Regions from separate parts of the Homo sapiens genome. Here regions 1, 2, 3, 4, 5 and 7 are each linked to region 6. The links are contacts of gene promoters, found by promoter capture Hi-C in blood cells and fetal thymus (Javierre and others, 2016). All regions are on one chromosome and are shown on one strand. Each heading gives the region's core, a stretch centred on a gene start or on the middle of the fragment in contact. The rest is flanking DNA. Distances are from core to core; before and after follow the strand shown. Region 1 overlaps BICD1 (BICD cargo adaptor 1). Region 2 overlaps BICD1 (BICD cargo adaptor 1). Region 3 overlaps BICD1 (BICD cargo adaptor 1). Region 4 overlaps BICD1 (BICD cargo adaptor 1). Region 5 overlaps BICD1 (BICD cargo adaptor 1). Region 6 holds the start of DENND5B-AS1 (DENND5B antisense RNA 1). Region 7 overlaps BICD1 (BICD cargo adaptor 1).

What was found. Contacts are between HindIII fragments. The CHiCAGO score rates a contact against its expected background, and 5 or more counts as called.
Region 1: a contact is called between a fragment that was not itself captured here and the fragment with the promoter of DENND5B-AS1 in region 6, in 1 of 17 cell types (neutrophils). The highest score is 5.5, in neutrophils.
Region 2: a contact is called between a fragment that was not itself captured here and the fragment with the promoter of DENND5B-AS1 in region 6, in 1 of 17 cell types (neutrophils). The highest score is 5.2, in neutrophils.
Region 3: a contact is called between a fragment that was not itself captured here and the fragment with the promoter of DENND5B-AS1 in region 6, in 7 of 17 cell types (activated CD4 T cells, total CD8 T cells, naive CD4 T cells and 4 more). The highest score is 8.0, in activated CD4 T cells.
Region 4: a fragment that was not itself captured here is called in contact with the fragment with the promoter of DENND5B-AS1 in region 6 in 5 of 17 cell types (activated CD4 T cells, neutrophils, non-activated CD4 T cells and 2 more); the score reaches 7.6 in activated CD4 T cells.
Region 5: a fragment that was not itself captured here is called in contact with the fragment with the promoter of DENND5B-AS1 in region 6 in 4 of 17 cell types (activated CD4 T cells, naive CD4 T cells, total CD8 T cells and 1 more); the score reaches 8.4 in activated CD4 T cells.
Region 7: a contact is called between a fragment that was not itself captured here and the fragment with the promoter of DENND5B-AS1 in region 6, in 6 of 17 cell types (neutrophils, total CD8 T cells, monocytes and 3 more). The highest score is 8.9, in neutrophils.

The regions. Positions count from the first base shown.
Region 1 is chr12:32,184,676-32,187,375 of GRCh38, forward strand. The region is part of intron 1 of BICD1 (BICD cargo adaptor 1); the gene reads left to right. Among named protein-coding and RNA genes, the nearest start is that of BICD1-AS1, 79 kb to the left of the region's middle. The HindIII fragment of the contact is 860 bases long and covers 899-1,758 here.
Region 2 is chr12:32,141,621-32,144,320 of GRCh38, forward strand. All of the region lies in intron 1 of BICD1 (BICD cargo adaptor 1), which reads left to right. Among named protein-coding and RNA genes, the nearest start is that of BICD1-AS1, 36 kb to the left of the region's middle. The HindIII fragment of the contact is 2,033 bases long and covers 235-2,267 here.
Region 3 is chr12:32,321,827-32,324,526 of GRCh38, forward strand. All of the region lies in intron 4 of BICD1 (BICD cargo adaptor 1), which reads left to right. Among named protein-coding and RNA genes, the nearest start is that of FGD4, 76 kb to the right of the region's middle. The HindIII fragment of the contact is 639 bases long and covers 1,004-1,642 here.
Region 4 is chr12:32,376,352-32,379,051 of GRCh38, forward strand. It overlaps BICD1 (BICD cargo adaptor 1), which reads left to right. Exons shown (of 10, transcript NM_001714.4): 10 at 1,189-2,700. The coding sequence ends at 1,276. Among named protein-coding and RNA genes, the nearest start is that of FGD4, 22 kb to the right of the region's middle. The HindIII fragment of the contact is 3,960 bases long and covers 1-2,700 here.
Region 5 is chr12:32,339,069-32,341,769 of GRCh38, forward strand. The region is part of intron 8 of BICD1 (BICD cargo adaptor 1); the gene reads left to right. Among named protein-coding and RNA genes, the nearest start is that of FGD4, 59 kb to the right of the region's middle. The HindIII fragment of the contact is 736 bases long and covers 903-1,638 here.
Region 6 is chr12:31,588,665-31,591,364 of GRCh38, forward strand. DENND5B-AS1 (DENND5B antisense RNA 1) reads left to right here and starts at 1,259. Exons shown (of 3, transcript NR_046909.1): 1 at 1,259-1,455. DENND5B (DENN domain containing 5B) reads right to left here and starts at 2,472. Exons shown (of 21, transcript NM_144973.4): 1 at 2,042-2,472. The coding sequence starts at 2,168. RefSeq lists an enhancer at 993-1,072 and silencers at 1,503-1,842, 1,993-2,262, 2,333-2,622. The HindIII fragment of the contact is 7,998 bases long and covers 1-2,700 here.
Region 7 is chr12:32,290,339-32,293,038 of GRCh38, forward strand. The region is part of intron 2 of BICD1 (BICD cargo adaptor 1); the gene reads left to right. Among named protein-coding and RNA genes, the nearest start is that of FGD4, 110 kb to the right of the region's middle. The HindIII fragment of the contact is 2,456 bases long and covers 215-2,670 here.

The DNA of each region.
Region 1 (2,700 bases), core at 79-2,578, 600 kb after region 6:
GAGGATGGTAGGAATCCTTTCGCCTGAAACTTTGGAAAAAGGTGGATGAATTACAACTAAGTCATCTTTTAGCTTTGCTTTCTTGATCTTCCTTCAAAGTTTATGATACCTAAATTCTCTCTTCAACTCATAAAATGTGTTTTATGGTTTAATAGAAAAGCTATAAGCACATGACAAAATTAGTTCTTATTAGCTATATGCCTACAGAACCAATTTTGTGGTTTTCAATATGATATGTTCAATTCCAGAAGGTGTTTTATAAATCAGTTGGTAGGAACCTGTTTTATGTGTAAGCTGTGTCCAGATGGATGTTTCTTTACCCTTTTATGTACCTGGACCAATAGTACCAGAAACCATGGGAGCATAACCACCCCACAAGAACTCCACCCCTGCCACAGCCTTCACTATTTGGCAGGGGAAGCAGAGACTCTGCCATCTTCAAGCCACTGGTAGAGCCCCTTTCACATGACCTGGGAGGTAATTTCACAAGCAAAGAAGTCTAAAGGAAAGGTTGTACCTAATTTAAATTATTGCTTTTGTCATATTCTCTACCACTCACAGGAATGTTTTATTATTAATCACAAATCATAAGCAATTTATACTCTTGATTATTTCAAAAGAGCCACATCCACTGCTATGGTTTTGAAATTATTACATTATACATTATTAGTCAGCTTAGACTAAATTATGCTGTGGTAACAAACCCCAAAATTTCAAGGGCTTACAACAATAAAGGTTTGTCTTTCATGCTGTACATTCATTGCAGGTAACTAAGACACTATTCCATGTCACTGTCATTCTGAGATATGGGCTGAAGGAACATCCTCTCCCTGAGGCTTTGCTAGTGTTTCAGTAGACAGAAAAAGAACGCAATGGGAACACACACAATGGTTCTTAAAGCTTCAGCTTCAAAGCAGCACATGTCATGGCACTCACACTTTACAAAGCAAGTCAGACGGCTGCTCTGGGGACCTGCAGTCGTGCAGGAGAGGGGCTCCCAAATCAGACAGCCACTCCTGGCATCAATGACGCAGGGATCTATAGTCCTTTTATGCTGAGGGGTGGTGAATCCACCACAGTTAACAAAATCTTGAGACTTGCCATAAACAAATTCTCATCTGTTTGTGTGATGAGGTCCAGATGATGGCCCACTTCAGTAGCAAAGACAGTGCACTGTGCTCACCACGCCATTTCATCTTTTCCCTGGGTTGATAGGAAGATGGCCTTCTCAACCCCTTTGCATCTGTGTGGGGCCAGGAGACTAAACACCGCCAGTTGATTATGAGGAGGAATGACGTGTGGCACTTCCAGACCTAGCTCACAAACGTGGCAAAATCCACTCTCCCCCAACTCCTTGAGCCTGTCTCTCCAAATTGCTGCATAGAGGCAATGTTTCCAGGAGAACCTCACCTGGCCAGAAACATCTGCCTTGAACATGGTTAGAACAAATGAAACTTTTTTGTATTAAAACACTTGAGATTCTGTGGCTCTTCGTTACTGTGTTACCCTATCCTGACCTTGCTTTGTGGTTTATTTAATGATGCACATTTACTAGAGTGGTGTACATTCAATAGTGAGGTGGCCACATACAACATACCCCTAAAACATTGCTGAAAGTACACAGCCATTTCTACTATAAAAATATAAGTATATGAGTGAAGAACTGATTTTTGAATTTTGCTTTAATTAATTTAAATTTAAGTGGTCACATGTGGGTAGTGGCCACCGTATTGGACCACAGAACCTTAAGCAGTAGGAAGCTTTTTGCTACGTGATGTATTATAAATCTTTCCACTGTCTCAGCAATCTAAACATAAAACCAACATGTCTAAATTTCACACTTTCTAGATGATGAAGAGTCATAAAATGAACAGAAAGTCTTTATATGGTGTTTCAGGGGGACAGTTGTGACATTGGAGTGCTGGTCAAAGTTCTTTATTATTTTTTATTTGTTTCCAAATATGGAGTGCAGAAAACCAAATGGTGGAATGGACATTTTTGCCAAAGTATAATTGTGGTCTTTAATGATGTAAAATAAAATACCATATTCATTTCTGAATTTTTTTCATCGTGAAGTGTGTGAGATGTGACTTGACAACTTTGCAAATGTCGTGCCTCTGCTTAAATCTCTGCATTATATTTATGGAAATGTTTGAGATCCTGGAAACCATTTAGAGGTGTTATAAAATACTTTATTTCTTGAGGTCCAAAAGACTTCAAAATAGGGGCTGAGTGATATAATGGAAAGAACACTGGATTAGGAGCCAGAATATCTGGGTTATGTTGCCTGCTCTCTCACTAACTGGCTCAGTGAATTTGGGCAGGTTATTTGAACTCTCTGGATCTCGGTTTCTTCTATGGTGAGTTTATGGGCTTAGATTAATCACCCACCTCTAAAATTCCAGGTCTTTTCTTTTTTCTGACTTTAGGTCAGGTCTTTTCTTGTGAAGTATTAAAACTGAGCCCACCCATGTCAATATAACTTAACTCTTTGTTCCACGAAATTCGTGCCCAGGAAGATAAGACAGTAAATTAATAAATAAATTCACTGTTTGCTTTAGGAAAGTCTTGCAAATCAATTTATCAGGACAAACAGTTTGCTCATCTGGGCAAACAGTTGTCTTATTAAAACAATATATTGCTCACCTGGGCAAACAGCTTGACAAGTTTGTGAAAGAATGTCACTATGCATTGTGGTTT
Region 2 (2,700 bases), core at 1-2,500, 550 kb after region 6:
CCGCCACTACGCCCAGCTAATTTTTCTATTTTTAGTAGAGGTGGGGTTTCACCATGTTGGCCAGGCTGGTCTCAAACCCCTAACCTTAAATGATCCATCCGCCTCAGCCTCCCAAAGTGCTGGGATTACAGGCGTGAGCCACCGCGCCTGGCCTGGACACCCATTTTGAATAGCACTTACCACAGATTCCCGAAGCCAGTGGTTTTCTAGCCTTTTTATTCGCCGTTCGTTGTAAGCTTCTTGAGTCTTGGTGATTCTTGTTTCATTTGTTTTTGTTTCTCCCCAGAGCCTAGCACATAGTAGGTGACGAACAAATGTTCATCGAATGTATGGGCTCAACCATAGTCTATTTTTTTCAAAAAGGTATAAATCTTATCAATGTTTTACATTTTGCTGAACAAAACAGGAGAGAGCGGATTCTTTTCAAATAGGAAAAATTAGGGAGGGAAAAGAGGGATTGACTGAAACTCTATTGAAGTATGTCAACATAAAAGTTTATTGACAGCCTGGCGTGATGGCTCAGGCCTGTAATCCCAGCACTTTAGGAGGCCAAGGTGGGCGGGTCACTAGAGGTCAGGAGTTCGAGACCAGCCTGGCCAACATGGTGAAACCCCGTCTCTATTAAAAATACAAAAATTAGCCAGGTGTGGTGGCAGGCGCCTGTACTCTGAGCTACTGGGGAGGCTGAGACAGGAGAATCGCTTGAACCTGGGAGGCAGAGGTTGCAGTGAGCTGAGATCGTGTCACCACACTTCCAGCCTGGGCAAAAGAGTGAGACTCTGTCTAAAAAAAAAAAAAAAAAAAAAAAAAACAAAAAACCCCACCTATCTATCCTATCTATCTATCTATCTATCTATCTATCTATCTATTGGTCTATCTATCTAGATAAAAATAGCAGTCAACTAATTTTTCAAATTAAAAATGCTTTATTGTTATTTATAGCATGATTGTTTTTCTATAAAAAAGGCATATTACAACAGCCTTCGCTTCACATCTGACTCTTGCAGCATTCTTATAAAGAGATCTCACACCATATTTGAGGGCTTCATTAGTTTTCTAAGCCTTAAAAAAATTTCATCATTAAGATTATTCTCTCATGAAGCACCCAAAATATAGACAGCTTTTCTTATTTTCTTTTCTTCAATTGTTGACAGTCTAATGCTGCCAGATCTTTATCTGTCAGGGACTTTTGATGTTGTTGGAGCCATCTCTTGTGGACTTTATGAAATCTTGCATGCAGCACAATTTGAAACTTCATTGTGCATTCAATTTGCATTGCCTTTGCTGTGTTCACAGTGGCACTCCATGAGGCTTAACTATGGAGATCCTGGTGCTACAAGCCGTTAAATAGTTCTCTCTTCTCAACCTATTCCCCTATCCTGCTTTTCTTTTCTTCATAGCACTTATTACCTCCTGATTATATTTTTTGTTTGCCTTTTGTCTATCACCTGTCATTCTTTTACCAGACCATCTAGTCTCATATGTCTATATAACCTTTCTGAAAAACATCCTGTGGGAAATATACCATATATACAGAAAAAGTGCACAAACATGAATATACAGTTTAACAAATAATATAAACCTGCTATTCATGTAGCCACCACCCAGATGAAGGAAATAGAATATCATAAGCACCGCACAATCTCCATTTGTGCCCTTCTCCATCGTAGCTTTCTCTGTCCCAGACAACCATTGTCCACAACTTGTTGTAATAATTTACTTAATTTTCTTTTATAGTTTTATCACACATAATTTAGTTTTTGTCTGCTTTTTGAACTTTACATGAATGGAATAATATTGCATATATTATTTAATGCTTTTTCTTTCATTTAACATTTTTTTTTGTGTGTGTGTGAGATTCTCCAGGTTGTTGTACACAGTGCTAGTTATTTCATTTTGTTATGGTATAGTATCCCATTGTATGATTGTACCACAGTTTATCCATTTTTTAGTTGATGGGTTTTGACTTGCTTTCATTGTTTGGGCTATTATGAATAGTGCTGCTCTGCACCTGTTGTACATATAGCCTGGTGAACATGTTTGCGAATTTCTATGAGCGTGATCACGGTGGTGTAGAATTGCCAATCTTCAACCTGCCTGTATTTTCCAAAGCGATCATACCAATTTATTTACCTTCCAGCAGTGTATGAGAATTCTCTATTCTCACCATCATTGGATATTGTCAGATTTTAACATTTGGCTCAACTGATGGGTGTATAATGGTATCCTATGGTACTTATAATTTGCATTATCCCTAGTTACTAATAAGCTTGAGCAATTTTTCATATTTTTATTTCGATTTCCTAATTTATGAAATGCCTGTTTAAGTCTTCAGCCATTTCAAATGTTACCTGTCTTTTCAAAATGATCTATAGGAGTTCTTTGTATAATATATATTCTGGCCCCTAGTCCTTTATTCTTTGTATGTGTTGCAAATATCTTCATCTCTGCAGTTTACTCTTTTTGTGGTGTCCTTTGATAAAATTCTCAATTTGGTGAATGTAATTGAATTTATTAATTTTTCTCTTTGTTATGTATTTTTGTGTCTTTAAGAAATTTTTCCCTATGTAGGGAAGAAGGACAAAAATTGTCTTTCATAATTAGTTCTTTAACCCTTCATAACTTTGAGTATATAAATTATTGTGACCATCTTTGAATCTACAGTAGTTGAATTGCATATATAGAGGCTTGAGTTCTTAA
Region 3 (2,700 bases), core at 73-2,572, 730 kb after region 6:
TGTCTCTGCTAAAAATACAAAAATTAGCCAGGCGCAGTGGCAGACGCCTGTAATCCCAGCTACTTGGGAGACTGAGGCAGGAGAATCACTTGAACCTAGAAGGCGGAGGTTGCAGTGAGCCGAGATCACACCATTGCACTCCAGCCTGGGCGACAGAGTGAGACTCCGTCTCAAAAAAATAAAATAAATAAATAAATAAATAAAACAGTTTAAGCATCTGCTCTTTGAAATCCAAATACCATTTAAGGTACTCTAAGCCTTAATAGCTGAGTGAAAATACAGTGTTGGAGTTTTACAAAATTACCTGTATTTTAGTAATTTTTTTGTCAGGCCAAACTTAATTATCTGGGAGAAATATATATAGATAGATAGATATGATATATTTATATGTGTATAATATATATTTACATATGTGTGTAATATATATGTAATTTGGATACAATTTCCTATTCAATTGATTTCAGCAGAAACGTATTAAATATAGAAAGTAGTACTGTATAGCAGCAGTCCCCAACTTTTTTTGGACCAGTGATCTGTTTCATGGAAGACAATTTTTCCACAGATAGGGTGCGGGTGGTCTGGGGCCATTAGATCTCATAAGGAGCTTGCAACCTAGATCCCTCGCATGCGCAGTTCACAATAGGGTTCGCACTCCTATGGCAATCTGATGCTGCCACTCATCTGACAGGAGGCAGAGCTCAGGCGGTAATGTTTGCTCGCCTGCCACTCACCTCCTGCTGTGTGGCCTGGTTCCTAATAGGCCACAAACTGGTACTGGTCAGAGGCCTGGGAGTTGGGGACTCCTGTTGTGTAGGGAGGAAACACACATGCAAGAGACAGTGTTCTATTTGATGTTTTCTGGAGATGCTATCGTGAAGACACTGTAGACTTACCTTTTTAGGCTTAGAAAATGTTTATATTAAATCTCAACTGTCAGAGTCCAGATTGAAGGCTGTTCTAAAGGCATGACCTTATTCATCATAACACTTTTGCTGCTAAAACAAGCTTCAGACACATTCAGTACATTTTGTTTTGATCCAATATTTATTTGATCCAGAGGCCTTTCCTTTTGAAGGGCGTTTTGGAAACAGCCTTATCTGTAATCATGTGTACTAATTGAATAACGTTTACACTTTCCAGTGCAAATTTGCTTAATTTTCAAAGGAAAAAAGGAAAACAAAAACACTTCTGACATAATCAGTTTTCACTGAGATTGTATAGAATAGAGATTTTCCATCTCCTTTATGAAAAATTCAAATGACATGGCTATTCATGAAATACCATATTACATAATTACCAGGTTTTTCACTGAAAACTATTGCCCAAATAGTCTGGGTAAGCAAATTCATCATCACCTCTGGAGATACAGTCTGTTATAACTAATGAAATCCAGCTAAGATTTGTATTCAAATATTTCCTGACTCTAAAATGAAAGAGTTGCTTTTATAAAATTTTCAAAATTGTGAGAACAGATGTGTTTGCCATGTAAAAACATTTTGGTTGTGGGAGGTGGACCACAGCTAACCAATTGTTCACAATAGCTAACATTGTAGAACCTTCAGTATTAAATTCACTAACTCACTTCATCATCAAAATTCCCTATGAGGCGTTACTGTGCTCCTTGCATAGGTTACCAAACTGAAGCTTTCTCAGAGTCACATAGCTAAGTAAATGTTGGTCCCGAGATTTGACTCCAGTGTTCTCTGATGCCACAGGCCCAGTTCTTTACCTGCAGTACTATCATTTGGGAATAATTTGGTTTCTGCAGCCATAATATATAATTTGTGGGTTGCTTTCCTTTCATAGGTATGGACAAACACTATGTCATAAAATCAGAGCTACAACTTAAAAGCCTCTAAATAACACCTTGAGATAACAAAACTGTATCTTAGGTTCTAATATATGTGATCATACTATACAGGCAGTCCTTGGTTTGCATAGTAGTCTGGGACAGTAAAAAATGGTCATGCAAACTGAAACCATGCAAAACAAACTTAATAATTAATGGGGAAATTTACAATTGTTTTGTGATCTTTAAATATTTTTGTGAAACATTAAAAAGTCTCTTACTGTTGGTTATAAATATATATAGAAATGAAAATATAGTAAAACTACTTAGTACTTCATAATTTAAAACATTAGGAATATTGAGAGTTAACCTTTTATTTCTTTGTAAACAGCTTATCAAGAGTATTTTGATCTTGCCTTCCCATAAAGCTTAGGGCCGGGCGCGGTGGCTCACGCCTGTAATCCCAGCACTTTGGGAGGCCGAGGTGGGCAGATCACGAGGTCAGGAGTTCGAGACCAGCCGCCAGGCTGAAACCCCATTTCTACTAAAAACCCCATGGTGAAACCCCATTTCTACTAAAAATACAAAAATTAGCCAGGTGTGGTGGCGTGTGCCTGTAGTCCCAGCTGCTTAGGAGGCTGAGGCAGAAGAATCGCTTGAACCCGGGAGGCGGAGGTTGCAGTGAGCGTAAATCACACCACTGCACTTCAGCCTGGTGACAGAGCTAGACTCCATCTCAAAAAAAAAACAAAAAAAAAAACTTAGGACACTGAGCAAGAATCTTTTCTATGCTTTGGCAAATTGTCATCCTCATTTCTAAGTTTGGATCACCTTCCAACATTTTATCCTCTGCACTTTAAACATCTGGAAATATCTTTGTGAGTACCTTTAATGTGCCAGCATCACTTCCT
Region 4 (2,700 bases), core at 53-2,552, 790 kb after region 6:
GCTGGGATTACAGGTGTGAGCCACCGCGCCCGGCCGCTAGTCAAATTTTAAAAGGCCCAAACCCAAATGTGTTTTGTCATTTTACCCTAGGAAACTCAATGATTTTGCTTCTTTATTCTTCAAGATTATTCATCCAGACCCTGATAGGCCTGAGCACAGGTTCATTTAAACTAGAGGCTATCACAGGCGTCGTTTGGAAAGTTACATTATACACTTAACAAATGGGAAATGTTAGGCTGGGCTCGGTGGCTCACGCCTGTAATCCCAACACTTGGGGAGGCCGAGGCAGGTGGATCACCAGAGGTCAGGAGTTCGAGACCAGCCTGGCCAACATAGCAAAACCCCATCACTACTGAAAATACAAAAATTGGCAGGGCATGGTAGTGCATGCATGTAATCCCAGCTGCTCGGGAGGCTGAGGCAGGAGAATCGCTTGAACTCGGGAGGCGGAGGCTGCAGTGAGCTGAGATGGAGCCACTGCACACCAGCCTGGGCAAAACAACGAGACTCCATCTAAAAAAAAAAGGGGGGGGGGGGTGAAATATAAAACTCTTCCTTATACCTCCAAGCCCAAGCAGGTAGGGGGAATTCTTAGAGCAAATTAGACTTCCACAGGCAAATTCTTTATCCTAGTGAATCTGGATCTACCAGATAACTATAGAATCCTCTAAACTCCAAAGCCTTGGTCAACCTGTCAGTACCATCAGCATCACTGGGAGCTCATTAAAAATGTAGAATCTCAGATCTCACCCCACACCTAATGAATCCGAATCTGCCCTTTATACTGAGCTCCCCAGGTAATTTGCATGCATATTAAAGTTTGAAAAGAACTGATCTCATGAAATCTTACAGCTAACACAGAGACCTAGGAGAACAAGACCGTGCAAAAATTGAGAAGAACTTCTGTAAAATGCTGGGGGCAAGAAAATAGGGAAAACAAGAAAAGAGAAGAGTGACTTTGAGGGAAGAGTGCATATATCATTTCCTTAATACATTTCATTTTTCTTTTTTATGCCTTGTTTTGAAAAGCTACCATTATCTTGGCATGCTTTAGATGGAAACCATTTACTGTGCAGATTTCTGTTCTTGTTCTCAAAATCTATGCAAAAATATCTCGTCTAACCCCTACCATTGTGCCTGGCCCTTTGAAATGTGTTTCTTGCTGACGTGCTTGTTTCTCCTTTCCAGTCCTGACACAGCTCTCCCTGAGGAGCAGCCACATTCCAGCTCCCAGTGCGCCCCTCTCCACTGTCTCTCCAAGCCTCCTCACCCCTAGTCTTCATCTCCTGTGGACGAACATCTGGGGTGGAAGTTTTGTAGCCACACACAGGATACTGCCCAAGATCCAGCGGGTGTTTTCTTCTCGGTTGTTAGATGTACAATTGGATTAATGTCCATCGTTTTGGAAGACGAGAGAAAGTTGAGAAGAACACGAAGCACAGACCCTGATGTGATAAAACATTTTGTGGTTTCTCTGAGTCACAGATAAACTTCTGCCATCAAATGGCTACAGTTCATTTAAATTTAAAAAAAAGAAAAAAGAAACAGAAAACGTGTCTCAGATGGCTGGCTTTACCTCGATAGCATAAGAGAGACCTAAGACATGTAAAATACGTATATTGCAGTATCATCTTTCCTCACACTCCAAATTCAGCTAGGGAAGTTGATTCCAATATGTTTGTCATTGATATTTATTTTGTACTTTATTTGCTACATGATTTATGTCTATACAAATAATTTCTCTGAGGTGAATTTAATTCATTTATTTTCAAATAAGCATAATTTGCTCAATTAAGTATGAGTTTGAATTTAGTTTGAAATCTGGAATTGGCCAGACTGTGGTCATTTTTCTTGCACAAAATGATAAATGAGGTGCATCAGAATGTTAACAATAACTGTATTTTGCTGCTACGCTGGTATTGTTTAGGCACTTACTTTCTAATCAGTAGCTCATTAACTGCTGGGTTTTGTTTTTGTATTTTTAACTAGAGTTCTTCACTGGACATTACTAAGTAAATCTAAGAAAGAGACTAAGTTATGATTTATTGACTTATTCAAGTTTTGATGGCATCTTTACTTTTATTTTTTCATTGCAGTTGAGTAGATGTACTGGTGCTGCTCCTTTGTATGTGTGTATGTGTGTGATAACGTTAAAGAAGGCTCAATAACTTGAAGGGAAAAAAATGGTGTGTTTATTTAATGACCAGAATTTTTTTTACTTCTCCCAAAATCAGGGTCCTACTGAGTCTTTCCTGATAAAAGGTATCAAGTACAAATGGGAAAATATATACATATATAGATGTAAGATAGCCTTTAATTAATTAATTTACCCAGAGAGTGTTCAAAGTTTGATTAAAATTGTATGTTTTGTTGTTGTTAGTTTTTTTCATAACGAATCTTCCTTGCCAAAAAAACAATAGATAATAAACCTTAGCTCATTGTCTACTTTTGACAAACACTCAGGTGCCTACAAACATTCTATTATCTTGAGATAATACATGTTCCTGGTTAATTTACAGATTCTGCTGGGTAACTTTTATGACTTGATTTAAGGCAGTGGATTTTCATAGCAAAATTTATTTTGCACATAATCTGACAAACAAGGAAAACAGCTAACTGAGCTGAAAGGTCTAACACTCTCGGGCTCCTTAACCATCAAGTGCTGCCCACACAATTGCTCCTAGCCCTGATTCCTTGTCT
Region 5 (2,701 bases), core at 21-2,520, 750 kb after region 6:
GCAGAGTATACCTTTGATGATGTGTAAATTCCTATAAGTCAAGTAAAAACTTCCTTACACTTAGCTTCCCATTTCCTCCTTCACTCATATTCCTTAGAATGACAGACTTCCATTTAACAGCCAAAGATGGCAAATGAGAGTTGGAAGGAATGGGATAGGTAAAGGGAAATTAGCAACAAGCACAACGCACACACACTTGGATCCTATTTGCAGTTTGGTAGCTCATGGCGATTCCATCTTGGTCAGATTTGGCCAGTTCTCTCTTATCGTTTTTAATGTAATTTCCGTAAAGGGAGAGCCATATGTATAACAAGGCTTTTGGGCTGATTTCCTTTTGTGGTGACTCAGAACGTCTCCTCAATCATTATATTGAGAATAAAAGTAAAACCTTCTAAGATTTTGCTCCTCAAGAACATTTAGGTCTTAGTATAATGTTCTTGTAGATTGCAGGCCCCCCACTGGTTAATGCTTACCAACATGTTCACACTTAGCTTCACTATTTTGCATTTTTCTTTCTTCCTTCCTTCCTTTCATTCTTTTTACTTGTTCTATGAAGAGGCCTAACTTGAAAATGTGACATATGGCAAATAGAGAAAATTATTCTTGCAAATAAAAATCATCCTTTTAAGGAATCCCTGCATGTGAGTATAGGGCAGAAGTGGCAAACAAGGAGCCCATAAACCAAAGTAAGCTTAAAGGCAGCTGTTATTTGACTATTGCCAGAAAATAAAAAATAAAACTATTTAAGTTAGTTATTGACAGTTAAAAATTCAAGAGATTTTATATGAACATCAGTATTTCTGGCCTCTTTTGGAAGATTCTGAATATCTGGCAGCCCTAGGTCTGCGTTCACGCATGTCAACACCTGTTGGAGCTCTGTAGTGGCTGCTGCTGTTAGGGCAAGCTTCGCACTTTGCCACAGTCACCACTCCTCCTTATTACTTATACCCAGCCTGCTATCCTCATTTCTATTCTCTCCTGGCCCCTCCTGTAGTCTTTGAGTTTGCCACCGTTGAAATAGAATTTTTTTTTTCATTTTACCTTAATTCCTTTTTGCAAACCTCAGCCTTTGGATCTCTAATACTTTCCTTATCTGATTCATGAAGTCAGCCTACTGATTGGGATTAAAAGATGTGGTGTAGAAACTGATAGTGCATTTCACGTTCTAAAGGTGTTTGAGGAAATTGGTAGTGATAATGAGTTGGAATGGTGTAATAGCCAAAATATACACCTAAGAAGAAAAAAAGTAAAAACTGCTTGGTGTTTTTAATTTCATAACTGATTTCCTATTGTTTTAGACCTCCTTGGAAGGTACCTTGAAGTATTCTGTGAATCACCAAAGTGGTAATGATTTATCAGGATACCTAACTCGGATAAAACCCACAAGTCTTCTTTTTAGTGTTCCAAATGGATTTAGTAGCACTATCTACTGGAACTTAGAAAAGAAATTGGTATGATTAATAAATAACTCCTATTGCTGTTTAATTAAAAAGATAACATCTCAATAAGGTTAAAAATTAATAATCAATGTTAACAACAATAACTGTTTTCATTTTTGTATGACTGGTTTTTGTTTACATGAATATATACTTTATATTGTTATCATTACATTGTTTAAGCCATGAACATTATATCACAAGCTTTTCCATGTTGCTATCTAGTCTTGTTTTTATTTGTTAAAGTTATTGTATCATAGATTTTGTTTCAGATGCTGTTATCACATTAATCACTACTTCTCTTCTTGTCCACTGAGGTAGTTTTTCATTATTTGTTATATTATAGAGCACTGCTGGGAATACCCTCATGCATTCAGCTTCTCATCTATTACATTTTTCTCAAGAGTGAGATCACTCAGTTAAAAGTTGAACATCCTTATGTTTTTTGCTCCATTCTGATGTTGCTGTCAAGAAGGGTATATCAATGTACTAAAAGCCCATAAAACACTTTCCCTTTTTCCCACATTGGGAATCTTTCTGCTACTTTATCCACACTGTGCACATCTTACAACTCTAAAGTCAGTTAGCATACATGAATGAGAGTACCATATATTGTCTTAAACTCTTTAGTTTTGAATAACCAGAAAATACCATTGACCTTAGAAATGATTACTATTTATGAGATTCGAGGCCGGCTGCAGTGGTTCACACCTGTAATCCCAGCACTTTGGGAGGCCAAGGCAGGTGAATCACTTGGGCTCAGGAGTTTTAGACCAGCCTTGGCAACATGGTGAAAACCCGTCTCTACAAAAATTAGCCAGGTGTGGTAGTGGGCACCTGTAGTCCCAGCTACTCAGGAGGCTAAAGTGGGATCCCTTGAGACAGGGAGGCGGAAGTTTCAGCGAACCGAGATCGCACCACTACACTCCAGCCTGGGTGACAGAGTGAGACACTGTCTCAAAAAAAAAAAAAAAATTAGAGATATAAGGAATGTGGAATTCAGAATAATCACCAGACCAGAAGGTCATGCTAATGACAGCTTAACATATTGATAACCTTTATAATTCTCACCATTTATGTAAAGTTAAAATAATAAAAGAGGAAAGGAAGTAAAGCTGTTATTATAGCCTTAGGAATTTTTAATTATGTATCGTGGAATCAACCAGATTAACGCTTAGTAAATTATTATCAAATCAATCTTAGCAACATTTTCTAAAAGGTCCTAGTTAAATGAATTACTACAGAAAGTGACGGACCATCCACAC
Region 6 (2,700 bases), core at 9-2,508:
TCCGAGGATTTTGGTGTGGGGGACACTCTAGAATCCATCCCCCATGGTTACGGAGAGATGATTGTATTTTCATTATCTCTTTACACTAGAACGTATGCTCCATGATGGCAGGGATTTCTGACTGCTTTCTTCACAGCTGTCCCCAGTGCCTAAAAAACCGACTACAGATAGATGCTTTCAAAACTGTTGGATGAATGATACTGAAATATTACAAGGCAAAATACATTATTACCTGAATACATTAAATATTATGAGAAGCAGAAATCCCAATCACCCACACTCACACAGTTTTGCAAAAAGAGACATCATAGTTTGTTTCTTAAAAATGCATTAAAGTCTAATTGATGGTTTTGTTAACATCATTCTCTCTGTGCCTAAAGAGTCCTAGGTCACACCTAAAAGGTACAGTTTTAGCTTCAGTAGGCAAACGGAAAAGAAAAATACAGGCTTTTTTCCTTTCATTAGTCATCACTGACAGAAGGCCTCCAAGTGACCCTGGTGCCACAAATGTTTAGGATCTTTAGGGAAGAAAGGAGTCTAGAAAAATAACAATATTCCTTCACCAATCTCGAGAAGAATCTCTCCAAATCTCTCTGCAGACATTTTTTCTTCATATCCTTTAACAAAGCCATTCTTAACATGTACATGAAATCTTAGTTGAAGAAACAATGTGATTACATAATTACACATACGGAAAAACTTGGTATTCTATTATCTCTCCAAATTTTTTTTTAACTAAAACTAGACTTACAGTTTTTGTTGAAAATGTTTTGTGTTTCTACCTCCGAAGAATATGAAAAAAAGAAAATGTTTTGCTCTGAAGCTGAGTTAAGAAGAAGATAGCCAAGACGTGGGTTGATGGGGACTGTATTTTAAGGCTGAACAGTTTTGTTTACTATTGTTTATTATTTAATATATTCTTCCCAGTCTCCCCACCCCCACCAAAGGAAAAGCGAAAAATTTACGTTAGTGCAATCAATAAGGAATTATTTGTCCAAAGGAAGTTGTTCTGAAAGGCTATGACCTAAGTCTTTAACACAAAGTTCAGGCGGTAGATGTCACTTCTCTCACCCATTTAACAACAACAACAAATCAAGATTCAGATCCCGCGGAGGCAAGCAGAAAGGAACAGGCGTGAAAAATGAAATCAGTTGTTTCTCCCCGGCCTCCTCTCGACACTGCGCACTCCGCTGCCCTGCCCCCGCCCATCGCCCTTTAGCGGCCCCTTTTAACGGCGTCGTTTGCCCAGCACAGCCCCGCACTGCGCCATCAAATGAGTCAAGCGGAAGGACCGGTACCCCTCCGGGAAAACCAGGCACTAACACACGGTGCACCCAACTGAATTTAAACTCGGGAACAGTGTAGGCAGTGTCAACAAAGCGCGGTGCTGGGTCCCGAGCGTCCAAAGGTCCCTGCCAGCTCCCAGACGCGGCCAAATCCACAGGATTCCAAAAGGTGACTTGGCCGGCACCGCAGAGCGGCAGGCGGCGCAGAGGGCAGAGTCCGACCGGTCCCCGCCCCGCGCTCGCTCCGCACGGCCACCGGCTCCTCCGCGGACGCTACCCCGGCGGGAGCCGAGCTGAGTCCGACTCCCCGTCTCCCGAAGAGGCCCGAAAGCCGCGTCACGTGCGGGGCCGAAACTTCGCGGCCGGGGCCGGGTGGCTGGCGGGTGGGAGGCAGGCACGGCGGTCGGGGGGCAGCCCGCGCGCCCGGTGACTCACCGGCCGCCTCCGAGTGCGGCTGCAAGCGAAGGGGCCGGCGCGCCAGGCGGGGTCCGTGCCCTTGGGGCCACCCCCGCGCCTGTTATTAATAACCCAGCGCCTGGAGGCGAAAGCCCCGGTGGGCGCAGCCGCAAAGCCCGCACGCGGAATAAATAACAATGTCATTAAATCGCGCCCGAGCGCCAGTTCGGCCAGAAAGCGGCGGGAGGGCGCCACCGGGAGCTGACTTTGTCTGGAGCCTGCACCCCGCCTCCCGCGCGTCCCCACAGCGTCCCCCGCGCCCCTGAGGGGGCTCAGCGCCGCCGCAGCCCTGGCCTTACCCGCCAGCTCGTCAGGCTCCAGCCCGCTGTCCGCGTCGATCCCGCACAGCACGAAGTAGTGCGCGAAGCGGCAGGCGGCCGGGGAGGAGCCCGAGCCCGGGCCGGGCGCCGCGCAGCTCCCGCTCATCCCGGCCGCGCTGCTCCAGGGGCCGCCGCCGCCGCCGCCCGGGAAGGCTTTCTGCGGAGGCTGCCACCACCGCTCCGGCTGTGGTCTGTGCGCCCGCCCTAGGGCGACACTGGCGCGCCCATGGCCGCGCAGCCGCCTCTCGCCGCCGCAGCCTGCCTCCTCGCTCGGCGCGGGGGAAGCGGCCGCGGGCTCGCGCGCGGCGGGTCCGGAGCCCGGCCGGGTGGGGGAGGGGCGCGGGGGGAGTGTCGGCCTGAGAGGCCCTCGCAGCCGCAGCTGCGCTCGCGAGCTGAGAGCCGCCGCGTCTGGCGCCCGCGGGTCAGCTGAGCGGCGCTCGGGCTGTGGGAGCGCGGGGCGGGCGGGGGCGCCGGGGCTCGGCGCGTGCGACGGAGAGGGGTGGGGGGCGCGCTCGCGAGGGACGGAGGCGCGCGCTTCTACCGTGCGCGCGCGCCTAGCGGGTTCGGAGGCCAAGCCTGGCGTGGGGCCGCATTCGTGCCCACTGGCCCCGGCTGCGGCATCGAGGGCGACCCTGCAC
Region 7 (2,700 bases), core at 193-2,692, 700 kb after region 6:
TACAGAATGGATAAAAATCTTCTGATGCCAAAAAAGCTTTGGCCCTGCCCAAGTTAGGATCTATATTCATATTATCACCAGGTAAAGTGTCTTGCAAACTTTCTTAGCTTTCATTCCTATCAGACTGCAGTTCATGACTGTGAGGTGTCAAAGACTCTCTCCTTAACCAAGCTTCAGTCATGCTCTGCTAATGTCTCTTTTGGACCAGGCTTCAAGCTTGCTCCACCCCCAGCTTTGGCTTGCCCAGCCCAGCCTTAGCAAGGAATTCTGCTAAGTCATCTCCCAACCCTAGATATCTAATTACCCTTGATATCTGATCAAGTTCTTCATCCTCCACCTTTTTGATGTCTAAGTCCTTGGACTGCCTTTAGCAAGAGTCCTGTTAGGCCAGCTTAGCAAGAATTCCCCTGCCCTTGATGTGTTCTTTTAGCAATTTCCCATCCTTTGACATCCTCATGCTGTTCTTGGCTATAAATCTTCACTTGCTCTTGCTGTTTCAGAGTTGAGCCCCTTCTTTTCCCCCCTCCAATTGCAATGGTTTTGAATGAAGTCTTCCTTACCATTTTAACAAGTGTCAGAATAATTTTTTTAACATCTGTCTTTACACCACAGTCAACAACCCCTTATCCTCCCCAAAACTCTGAGCTAACGCCACTACTTAGAGATTACAGTGTCTGCCTATTTTATTAGCTGGAACTGCATCAGTGATTTTGGAGTTGAATTTTTCATTTTTTACATGAAAGATTATGTGTTTATAATTTGTTGTTTTCACATATGCATAAACAGAACTAGGAAGAGCTGTACTCAGGAGTCAAGTCAGAAGAAAAAACATCACCATGTTCAAATAGACAACTGAACATGCCTCTGAAAACCAGAGACAAAGGGAGTTATTTACAGTTAACATCTATAGAATATGGGCCGGGTGTAGTGGCTCACGCTTATAATCCCAGCACTTTGGGAGGCCAAAGCAGGAGGATTGCTTGAGCCCAGGCATTCGAGACCAGCTTAGGCAACATGGCGAGACCCCACCTCTATAAAAAATTTAAAAATTAGCTGGGCGTGATGGTGTGCATCTGTAGGCCCAGCTACTCAGGAGGCTGAGGTGGGAGGATCACTTAAGCCTGGGAGGTCAAGGCTACAATAAGCTGTGATTAAGGCACCTGGGCAACAGAGCAAGACCCTGCTTCTACCAAAAAAAAAAATATATATTAAATTTGTAGAAGTCTGGGCACAGTGGCTCACACCTGTAATCCCAGCACTTTGGGGGCTGAGGCAGAAGGATTGCCTTCACGAGTTTGAGACCAGCCTGGGCAACATAGTGAAATACCATCTCTACAAAAAATACAAAAATGAGCCAGTTGTGCTGGTGTACACCTGTAGTCCCAGCTACTTAGGAGGCTGAGGTGGGAGAATCACTTGAGCCTGGGAGGTCAAGACTGCAGTAAGCCGTGATCATGCCACTGCACTGTAGCATGGGTGACAGAGTGAGAACATGTCTTTAAAAAAAAAAAATCTGTGGACTATGAAGCAAGATGAGAGACATTTGAAAGCATATGTCGGAAAGTCAGGTATACTTCTAGAGCTGGCTCTCTGTTAGGATAGAGACCTTTAAAATGTTTCTAGTGCTTGCAGATGTCACCCTACCCTCCTGCAAAGATAACAGTGCATTTACTTCTGTCACTGTAGATTAGTTTTGCCCAGGTATTCTTTTCTTAGGGCTGCCGTAACAAAGTCTGGGTGGCTTTAAAACAACAGAAATTTATCGTCTCACAGTTCTGGAGGCCAAAAGTCAGAAATCATGGTGTCGGCAGGGCCATGCTCCCTCTGGCAGCTCTAGGGAAAGGCCTTTCCTTGCCCCTTCCTGGCTTCTGGTGTTTGCTGGCAATCCTTGATGTTCCTTGGCGTGTAGATGGGTCACTTCGGTCTTTGCCTCCATGGTCACGTGGCCATCTTTTCCCTGTGTTTCTTCACATAGTCTTCCCATCCCACATGCAGAAGTATGTGTCAGTTTCTGTGTGGCTGAATTTCCCCTTTTTATAAAGACAGCAGCCCTATCGGATTGGGCCTCCTCTAATGATCTCATTTTAATTTTTGCCTTTGTAAAGACCCTGGGAGTTAGGACTTCAACATGTCTTTTTTGGGAGACAATTGAACCTACATAGCATGTTTTTGAACTTTACATGCAGAATCATATTGTATGTAGTCTTTTGCATCTGGCTTATTTCAGTCAATATATTAGTGAGATTCATCTGTGTTGCAATAGCAGTTTCTATTCATTGTCAGTCCTACCTACCACTATATCAAGGCTCTGCAAATTATGGTGTGAAGGCCAAATGCATCATGACTTATTTTTTTCGCATATGGATATCTAGGTATTACATAAGAAAATGTGGTTTTTGGTTTCTATGATACTTCTTCCCATATTTCTCTTTGTTTGAATAGGAAACAAATCTAATTAATCCTTAATTAAAAGAAAACTTTTATATCCCATCTTTCCATGACTATGAATATGTTACATGTATAAATGTTTATATCTGTTATGTGGTCATTATACATTTTGAACTAAAACATAGCTTATACTTGCCATATAAGTTTATGGAAAAAGTTAAATATTTTACTTAATTGATTGATTTATATCCTGTAACTTTACACATAAGTCCTGGTAATACAAGCTTGTTGTTAAAAAAAAAATTGAAATGA